Linked DNA regions of Homo sapiens: all the other regions are linked to region 1. The links are contacts of gene promoters, found by promoter capture Hi-C in human tissues and cell types (Jung and others, 2019). All regions are on one chromosome and are shown on one strand. The core of a region is centred on a gene start or on the middle of the fragment in contact, and the rest is flanking DNA. Distances in the headings are between cores, read along the strand shown. Region 1 holds the start of KCNK1 (potassium two pore domain channel subfamily K member 1). Region 2 has its middle 110 kb from the start of SLC35F3. Region 3 has its middle 120 kb from the start of MIR4427.

Region 1 (2,558 bases), core at 30-2,529:
CGCCCGGCCTCATCTTTCACCTGAGGAGGCTCCTCCATGGCCGGGCGCCCCGCGGGTGAGTCGTACGGGGACGTGGCGCTTCGAAGTTTATGGGGAGCCTCGCACACCTCAAGTTGAAGGAACTGCTGAATCAGGGTGCCCCAATTAAGTCAGATCTTAGGCAATCCTATGGTTCCTTTACTCTCCCTCACCCTTCCTCCTACTCTGAAAAGAAACCGGATCGGCCTGTCCGCCCAGAGGTCACCTGGGAAGAGCAGAGTGATGTCACTCGGCTACCCCCAAAACTGCCTCCAAGGTACAAAAGAGCTGGAATATCTGTGCATGGTCCAAAGGGACGGCACACTCCGGAAGGTGACCCTTTAGAAGGTATTATTACCAGACTGCAGCCTCGGCCTCTGGGATGGGTGCGGGAGGAAGGTGGTGAGTTTCCATCATCCCGCTGCCTTGCCGCACGGCGGCCAGGTGCTGCTACACATTCAAACCCGACAGTTTGGCTTAGTGGGTTGCGAAAAAAGAACTCAAGGGGAGGAAGCACCTGCAGCCACCCAGGCCGAAGTTAGGGACCACTTCCCCAGAGTTACGGACGGCAACAACCAAGTCACGTCTGGAGTCACCTCTCTGGCTTCCGGCTCCGCAGGGCTTGCCCTCCCGAGTCACCCAGGCAGAGGCCGGGGACGCCAGTAAGGGGAAGGTCGGAGGGTCGGGAGGACAGTGAGGGGAGGCGGGCTGGAGGAGCCGGGATGGCGAAAGGTGGGGGGTGGGGTGGGAGGGTTAGAGGGGCCCGGGGCGCCGGGGCCGGGGTGTGTGGGTTGTGGGCGAGGTGGCCGGGGCGGCCAGGGGGCGCGCAGGATACCCTACCTGTGGTGGAGAGCACGGTGCTGGCGAAGAAGAGCGCGGAGGTGAAGTCCCAGTTCCAGTTGCCCGAGGCGTTGCTGAGCACCGACACGCCGTAGTTGCTGGCCTCCAGCACCCGGCCCAGGAACTGCTCCAGCTGCTGCTCAGACAGGCACTCGTGCTCCTCCAAGAAGCGTCGCTTCAGCTTGCGCAGCTCCTGGCGCAGCAGGTCCTCATAGGGCAGCTCCACCGAGGAGAAGACCACTGCGCCGAAGACCAGGTAGAGCAAGTAGCCCAGCACCAGGAAGCCGAAGCACCAGGCCGAGCGGTGCCGCTCCACCAGGCGCACGCACGAGCTGCCGGCCAGGGACTGCAGCATCTTCTCCACCGCCGCCGCCAAGGCCAACGCCGCAGACCGGCCGGAGCGCGGCCCGCCGCCTCTTCTGGCCCCGCCGCCCCCGCCCCCGCCCGGGCCTGGCTCCCGCCCGCCGCCCGCTCCCCCGCGCGCCCGCCCGCCCCGCTCCTCCGGGCAGCGCCGTCTTCCTGCGATTGGCTCTCTCGGGCGATGTTTTTCTTCCTTCTTTTCCTGTTTCCTTGCAATATAAAAAGCCCAGATGATGTGGCGCTGACGTGGTTGCCGGCTCAGGTAACCCGAGAGTCAGCGGAGACCGCGCGCAAACTTGGCCAGAGCGCCTGGGCTGGGCTGCCGGGGCCCGGGACGCACCGCCTTCTGCGCACTCCAGAGGTGGGGCGGGCGCTCGGTGGCGCCCAGACCCCGACCCGACAGCCACCAGCTCCTCCCGCTCCCTCCCTTCCTGGGTCCAGTAGCCAAACTCTAGCTGACCGCGCGCGGCGTGTGCGTGTGTGTGTGTGTGTGTTCGCGCGCGTGTAGTGTGGGCCGCTTCTGGTCAATGCGCTGGCCGTCCAAGCCCCCTGTCCAAGCTACTCTTGTTTCCCACTTATTTTCTCCCAATCAAAGCCAGTATTACAAAACAGCAAGCGCTGAAGTACTTTCCTTCTTTGTCTTATTGGTCGAAGGATTGAGCAATCTGGTGCCAGTAATGACGGTGAAAATACCAGAACATCAGAGTTGGAAGGCTCCTTGAATCAGTCTCCTCTCTCCCACCCATCCCCCTCACAAAAAGGACTTGAGGGAAAAGGAGAGTCTCAGAGAAGTCCTATTTCTGAGTTCGAATTTTCTAAAACATGACCTTAGGTTTTTTGGTGAAAAAACATCCCAAATGTGTCAACTGCCAGAAGAAACTGAGCTTTCCCAACTGTCACTTCTTTTTAAAGTGACAAAAATGTGGGCGAGGGTCAGCGAGCCGCCTGCTTGTGGATGAAAATAAAAATTGGTACACCCTTTCTGGAAAGGCAATTTAGCGACACGTCTCAAGAACCTTGAAAGGGTTTATTTGTTCTGATTCAGTGATATGTCCTAAGAAAAAACAATCAGAGAGGCACTTACTTACAAAGACTGGTCATAGACGGTATCTATATATACATACATGTAGTTGTATAATATAGTGCATACACATGTGGGACACACACACACACACACACACACACACGGTATAGATGAAATAATGAAGACTCAGAACAATCTAAATATTCCAAAATAGAGAATGGTTAAATAAGTTATGGCATCTCTACAGCATGGACACCATATAGACATTAAACACATTAAAGTTGTGTCTAAAGACTATTGAAGCAAAACTGTGTAG
Region 2 (2,558 bases), core at 44-2,543, 180 kb before region 1:
CCAGCTTTAGAAAACCCAGAAATTGCCCCTCTATGAAATTTTGCCTGGGTTGATAGGTGCAGCAAACCACCATAGCACACGTTTACCTAGGTAACAAACCTGAACATCCTACACATGTAGCCTGGAACTTAAAAAAAAAAAAAAAAAGTAAAGAAAAAAAAAAGAAATTTTGCCCAGCATCCAAGCCAGATTAACTCCTACTGTAGACCTTTATGCCTTTGACCCTTAAACTAAAGGCACCTCCCTGGCAAAGCTACACCTGAACACATAGCAGGCTTGCCCTTTGGGATGACTAAAGAACCTAGAAACAGTGAGGAAAAGTGAAGGGGTGTCTATATCAGGGAGAGAAGCATTTGCAAGGCCAAAAAAGCAAGGAAACCTTTTCTTTGATGCCAGCTGTGAGATGAGGTCTTGAAAGGAAGATGGCAAAGGCCATGAAGCAACCCAGGACGGGGCTGCAGTCAGATTCAGGGGATTTAAGACCCTGCCACAGGTGGGATCCCACCTCTGGGGGCAGCCACCACTGACGGTGGCCCTAGAAGAAGTATGCAGAAGAGTTATGTGGCAGGAAGGGGCCCACATTTTTCTTATGATTTTCTTCTTATGATTTTCTCTGGGCCTCCTTTAACTTCTGATTGGCTCTGGGATATGGATCAGTTTAAGTTTGCCTGGTAAAAGTAAATCCTCCAAAATCATAAACACTTATGTTGAAAGTGCCCCAGGCACATTTTCCTAAGGTAACCCTAAGTATACTCAGCCCTCGGTATCCTCAGTTTCTGCAGCCATGGATTCAAACAACCATAGGTCAAAAACATTAGAAAAAAAAAATTTTTTTTAATAACAATAAAAAATAATACAAATTAAAAATGCAATATAACAAGTATTTACATAGCATTTACATTGTATTGGTATTATGTCATATAGAGATGATTTAAAGTATACAAAAGGATGTGAGTAGGTTATATGTAAATGCCATGTCATTTTACATAAGGGACTTGAGCCTCCTCCTGGAACGAATTCCCTGTAGACACCAAGAGACGACTTCATTTTGCAAGTAGCGTCTCTCTAACATTCCTTAAGACAGAAAAGCAAGCTGGAGAAACTATGATTTCCCATTTCTCATTGTGGAAACTGTCATGTGAATGTGATTTATTGGAAGTGGTGAGAGAGTAAGGAATGCTGCCTTGCCAACCATTCATTCTACATATTTCTTTCACAACAACCACGGGCCTTGCCATGCACCATCTTGGGAAGGATGACAGAAGGGACTCATACATTTCTAAAGGCAGCAGCAGCAGCCTTTGAAGGCAGCTCATCTGGGAAGCCCAGTGTGTGGGCATCCGTGTGGATCCTCCAGCTGACAAAAGCTAATGGGCTGGTGATAGAGAACTGGAAGGCAGTGAAGCAGAACATGAAACCTGCTCAACAGACCACATCCCTGGACAGAGGCAAACATGGTGTGTCTAGGCCATTTCAACCACAGGGTTAAAAAACATGCTTTCAAGTGTCCTTATTGGTAAAGTTGCCAATCAGAGACTCAACAAAATTTTTCTCTCTTTGGCAACTAAGTCCTCACCCACACGAGAGACTGTGTGACATTAAAAAAGACACAACCTTGAGTACCAGTGTTTGGCCTCTCTGCAAGTACTGTGATGGCTCAGCTAGGAACAGAGTCCTTGTGCATAACCACTCTCACAGTAAGAAAGATCATCTATAAATTTCTGTGTAGTCAGTTCACCCCAAAATGTACAGCTGATTGTTCAAAATAGCCTGGGACCATCCCCCTCTCTCTTGCTCCCTTCTTCATCATGTGGCCCACCAGCTTCCCTGCCTTTTCTGCTACAACTTCCTGAGGTCCTCAGAAGAAGCAGAGACTGGTGCCAAGCTTCATGTACAGCCTGAAGAACAAAATAAACCTATTTTCTTTATAAATCATGAAGCCTCAGGTATTTATCTATAGCAACACAGGCTGGCCTGAGTGTCCTCACAACACCAAAGGGGGTGATTCCTGCCTTATCCTGTGAGAGGGGCAGTGGGATGCTTCAAAGCATACAAGATGGAACCATAAAGCCTATATTCAAAATCCAAGATGTCCACCAGGGTGACCTTGAGGTTAAACTCTTTCTGCTTCAGGTTCACTGTTTGTAAGGTGGAGGGCAGTAATGGTACCCAACTCATGGGCCAATTAACTTAATGAGCTAAAGCATCTCAAGCTCTGAGACCAGTGTCTGGCTGATACAAGCACTCAGTAAACACTGCTAATAGTATTACTACCAATTAGCTAATTAGCCCTGTCTTTTCATGTAGGGATTTGTGGGGTTTGTTAACTTTTATTTAAGTTCAGGGGTACATATGCAGATTTGTTATATAGGTAAATTTGTGTCCTGGGGGTTTGTTTTACAGATAATTTTGTCACCCAGGTATTAAGCCTAGTACCCATTAGTTCTTTTTCCTGATCCTCTCCCTCCTCCCACCCTCCACTCTCTGGTGAGCCCCAGTATATATTCTTTCCCTCTATGTGTCCATGTGTTCTAATCATTTAGCTCCCAGTTATAATT
Region 3 (2,558 bases), core at 40-2,539, 130 kb before region 1:
TCTATCTCTTGGATAGACCCTATGTTGGGCAATGAAATAAGTCCCAGTAAATTTCAGAGGACTGAATTCATATAACACATATATTCTTCGATTACAACATAATTATACTTGAAATCAATAATAAGGACATTTGAAAGGAAGCAACAGTCTTCAAAAGAAGCTCATGGGTCAAAGAAGAAATCACCAGGAAAATTTTTAAAAATTTAAAACACTATGCAAAAGAAAGCTGCTGTGTCTATATTAATACCTAACATTATAGACTTTAAAACAATGAGGGGTCTTTAGTAATAATGAAAGGCTGAATTCATTAAGAAGATGACAAAAATCCTACATGCCTGTGCATCTAATAAGTGTGCCACAAAGCAGAAATCAGCAGAACTGAAGGGAGAAAAGAACAATCACACAATTATGATGGGATATTTTAAAACCCCACCTATCTCAGTAATTGATAGAGCACTTACCTAGAAAAACCAATAGGGATATAAAAGATTTTAGCAGCGCTAATAATCGACCTGATCTGATTGAAATTTATAGAACATTGCACCCAACAACCGGAGAGTAAACATCCTTTTTAAATTCACTTGAAACATTCTCCAAGATAGATTACATGCTGGATCATGAAATACATTTCAAAGGATCAAAATAATACAGAGTATGCTCTGTGATCACAATGGTATTAAATTATAATAAGATATCTAGAAAATTGAAGAATATTTAGAAATTTAGCAACACATTTTTTAAATAACTGATATAGGTCAAAGAAGAAATCACAAGACAAATTAGAAAATAATTTGAGCCTTGGTGCAATGGTTCACACCTGTAATCCCAGCACTTTGGGAGGCTGAGCTGGGAGAATCACTTGAGGCTAAGAGTTTGAGACCAGCCTGGGAAACACGGCGAGACCTGTCTCTACAAAAGAAATTAGCCAGCCATGGTGGCGCGCATCTATTGTCCTAGCTACTCGGGAGGCTGATGCAGAAGGTTTGCTTGAGTACAGAAGTTTGAGACTGCAGTGAGCCACAATCATGCCACTGTACTCCAGTCTGGGTGACACGGGAGACCTTGTCTCAAAAAAAAAAAAAAAAAAAAAGAACCTCTATGAAAACCTACATCATACAAAATGGTGAACTATTGAATGCTTTGCCCAAAGACCAGGAACAATCTTTGGATAAGTATATCCAATTCCATAACTTCTATTCAAGAGTGGAATGGGATCCTAATCAGTAAAAGAGAAGGAAAATAAATAAAAGGCATTAAGATTAGAAAATAGAAATAAACTTTATTCATAGATGACATGGTCATGTGCATAAGTAATGCTAAGAAATCTACATAGCAACCACTAGAATTAAGTGAATTTAACATGATTGCATGATACAAGGTCAAGATAAAAAAATTTATTGCACTCTACATAATAGGCACAATTAGAGATTAAGATTTAAAAGTGGTACCTTTTATAAAATTATTTAAAAATTAAATGCTTAAGAATAAAATTAACAAAAGACAAGCAAGACCTGTATGCTAAAAAGTACAAAATGCGTGCAAAAAGTGTAGAGAGAAATTTTAAAAAGCTCTAAGTAAAAGGACATATATAACATCATGGATTGAAAGGCAGTATTTTTAGTATGTCAATTTTCCCCAAAGCTACTGGTTCAATACAATCACTACCTTATTCCCAGTAGCTTTTTTTGGTAGCTATTAAGTTCATTCTAAAATGTATATGAAAATGCTAAGGTTCTAAATTAGCCAAAAGAATCTTGAAAAAGAACTCAGTAGAACTTACTCCAATTGATTTAAGCACTAATTATAATACTACAGTATTTAAGATAGTTTGATACTGATATAAGACAGACAAGTAGATTAATGCTACTGGAAGAGTCCAGAAATAGACTCACATATTCAATTAATTTTCAACAAAAGAAGGCACCAAGGCAATTCAAAAACAAAAGTCTTTTCAACAAACAAAGCTACAATAATCAAATAAACATATAGGAAAATGTGATCCATGATCTCTATTTTAGACTATGAACAAAAATTACTTGGGGATGGATCATAAGCTTAAACATGAAGCTCGAAAACTTATAGATGAAAGCAGAGACTATCTATGCAGCTTTGAGTAGGCAAAAATTTCTTAGGTGGGCCATCAAAAGCACTAACTGTAAAATAAAAATTATTAGTCAATTGCAGTTCATCAAATCAAAAATATCTTTTTTGACACCATTAAGAAAATAAAAGGTGAGACACAGAGTGAAATTCTTGCAATACATGTATCTGACATATGTTCAGGAATATATCCAGAATATATATCCAAAATGTATAGAGAACTCCTATAATCAATATTTAGGCTTGGTGGGGTGAATCACATCTGCAATCTTAGCACTTTGGGAGGCCAAGGTGGGCAGATCACTTGAGGTCAGGAGTTTGAGACCAGCCTGGCCAACATGGTGAAACCATGTCTCTACTAAATAAAAAAAAATAAAAATAAAAAAATAAAAAATAAATAAAAATTAGCCAGGTGTGGTGGTGCACGCTTGTAGTCCCAGCTACTAGGGAGGCTGAGG

Evidence for each region. The method cuts DNA at HindIII sites, captures the fragments that hold promoters and counts their contacts. A contact is called where the count stands out against the background at its distance.
Region 2: a fragment that was not itself captured here is called in contact with the fragment with the promoter of KCNK1 in region 1 in 1 of the 25 tissues and cell types used here (mesendoderm cells).
Region 3: a contact is called between a fragment that was not itself captured here and the fragment with the promoter of KCNK1 in region 1, in 1 of the 25 tissues and cell types used here (neural progenitor cells).

Annotation. Positions count from the first base shown.
Region 1 is chr1:233,612,827-233,615,384 of GRCh38, reverse strand. It overlaps KCNK1 (potassium two pore domain channel subfamily K member 1), which reads right to left and starts at 1,279. Exons shown (of 3, transcript NM_002245.4): 1 at 859-1,279. The coding sequence starts at 1,213. RefSeq lists enhancers at 253-312, 1,501-2,153 and silencers at 783-842, 1,183-1,252, 1,613-1,712. The HindIII fragment of the contact is 20,351 bases long and covers 1-2,558 here.
Region 2 is chr1:233,795,176-233,797,733 of GRCh38, reverse strand. No RefSeq gene overlaps it. Among named protein-coding and RNA genes, the nearest start is that of SLC35F3, 110 kb to the left of the region's middle. The HindIII fragment of the contact is 3,969 bases long and covers 1-2,558 here.
Region 3 is chr1:233,741,324-233,743,881 of GRCh38, reverse strand. No RefSeq gene overlaps it. Among named protein-coding and RNA genes, the nearest start is that of MIR4427, 120 kb to the right of the region's middle. The HindIII fragment of the contact is 3,831 bases long and covers 1-2,558 here.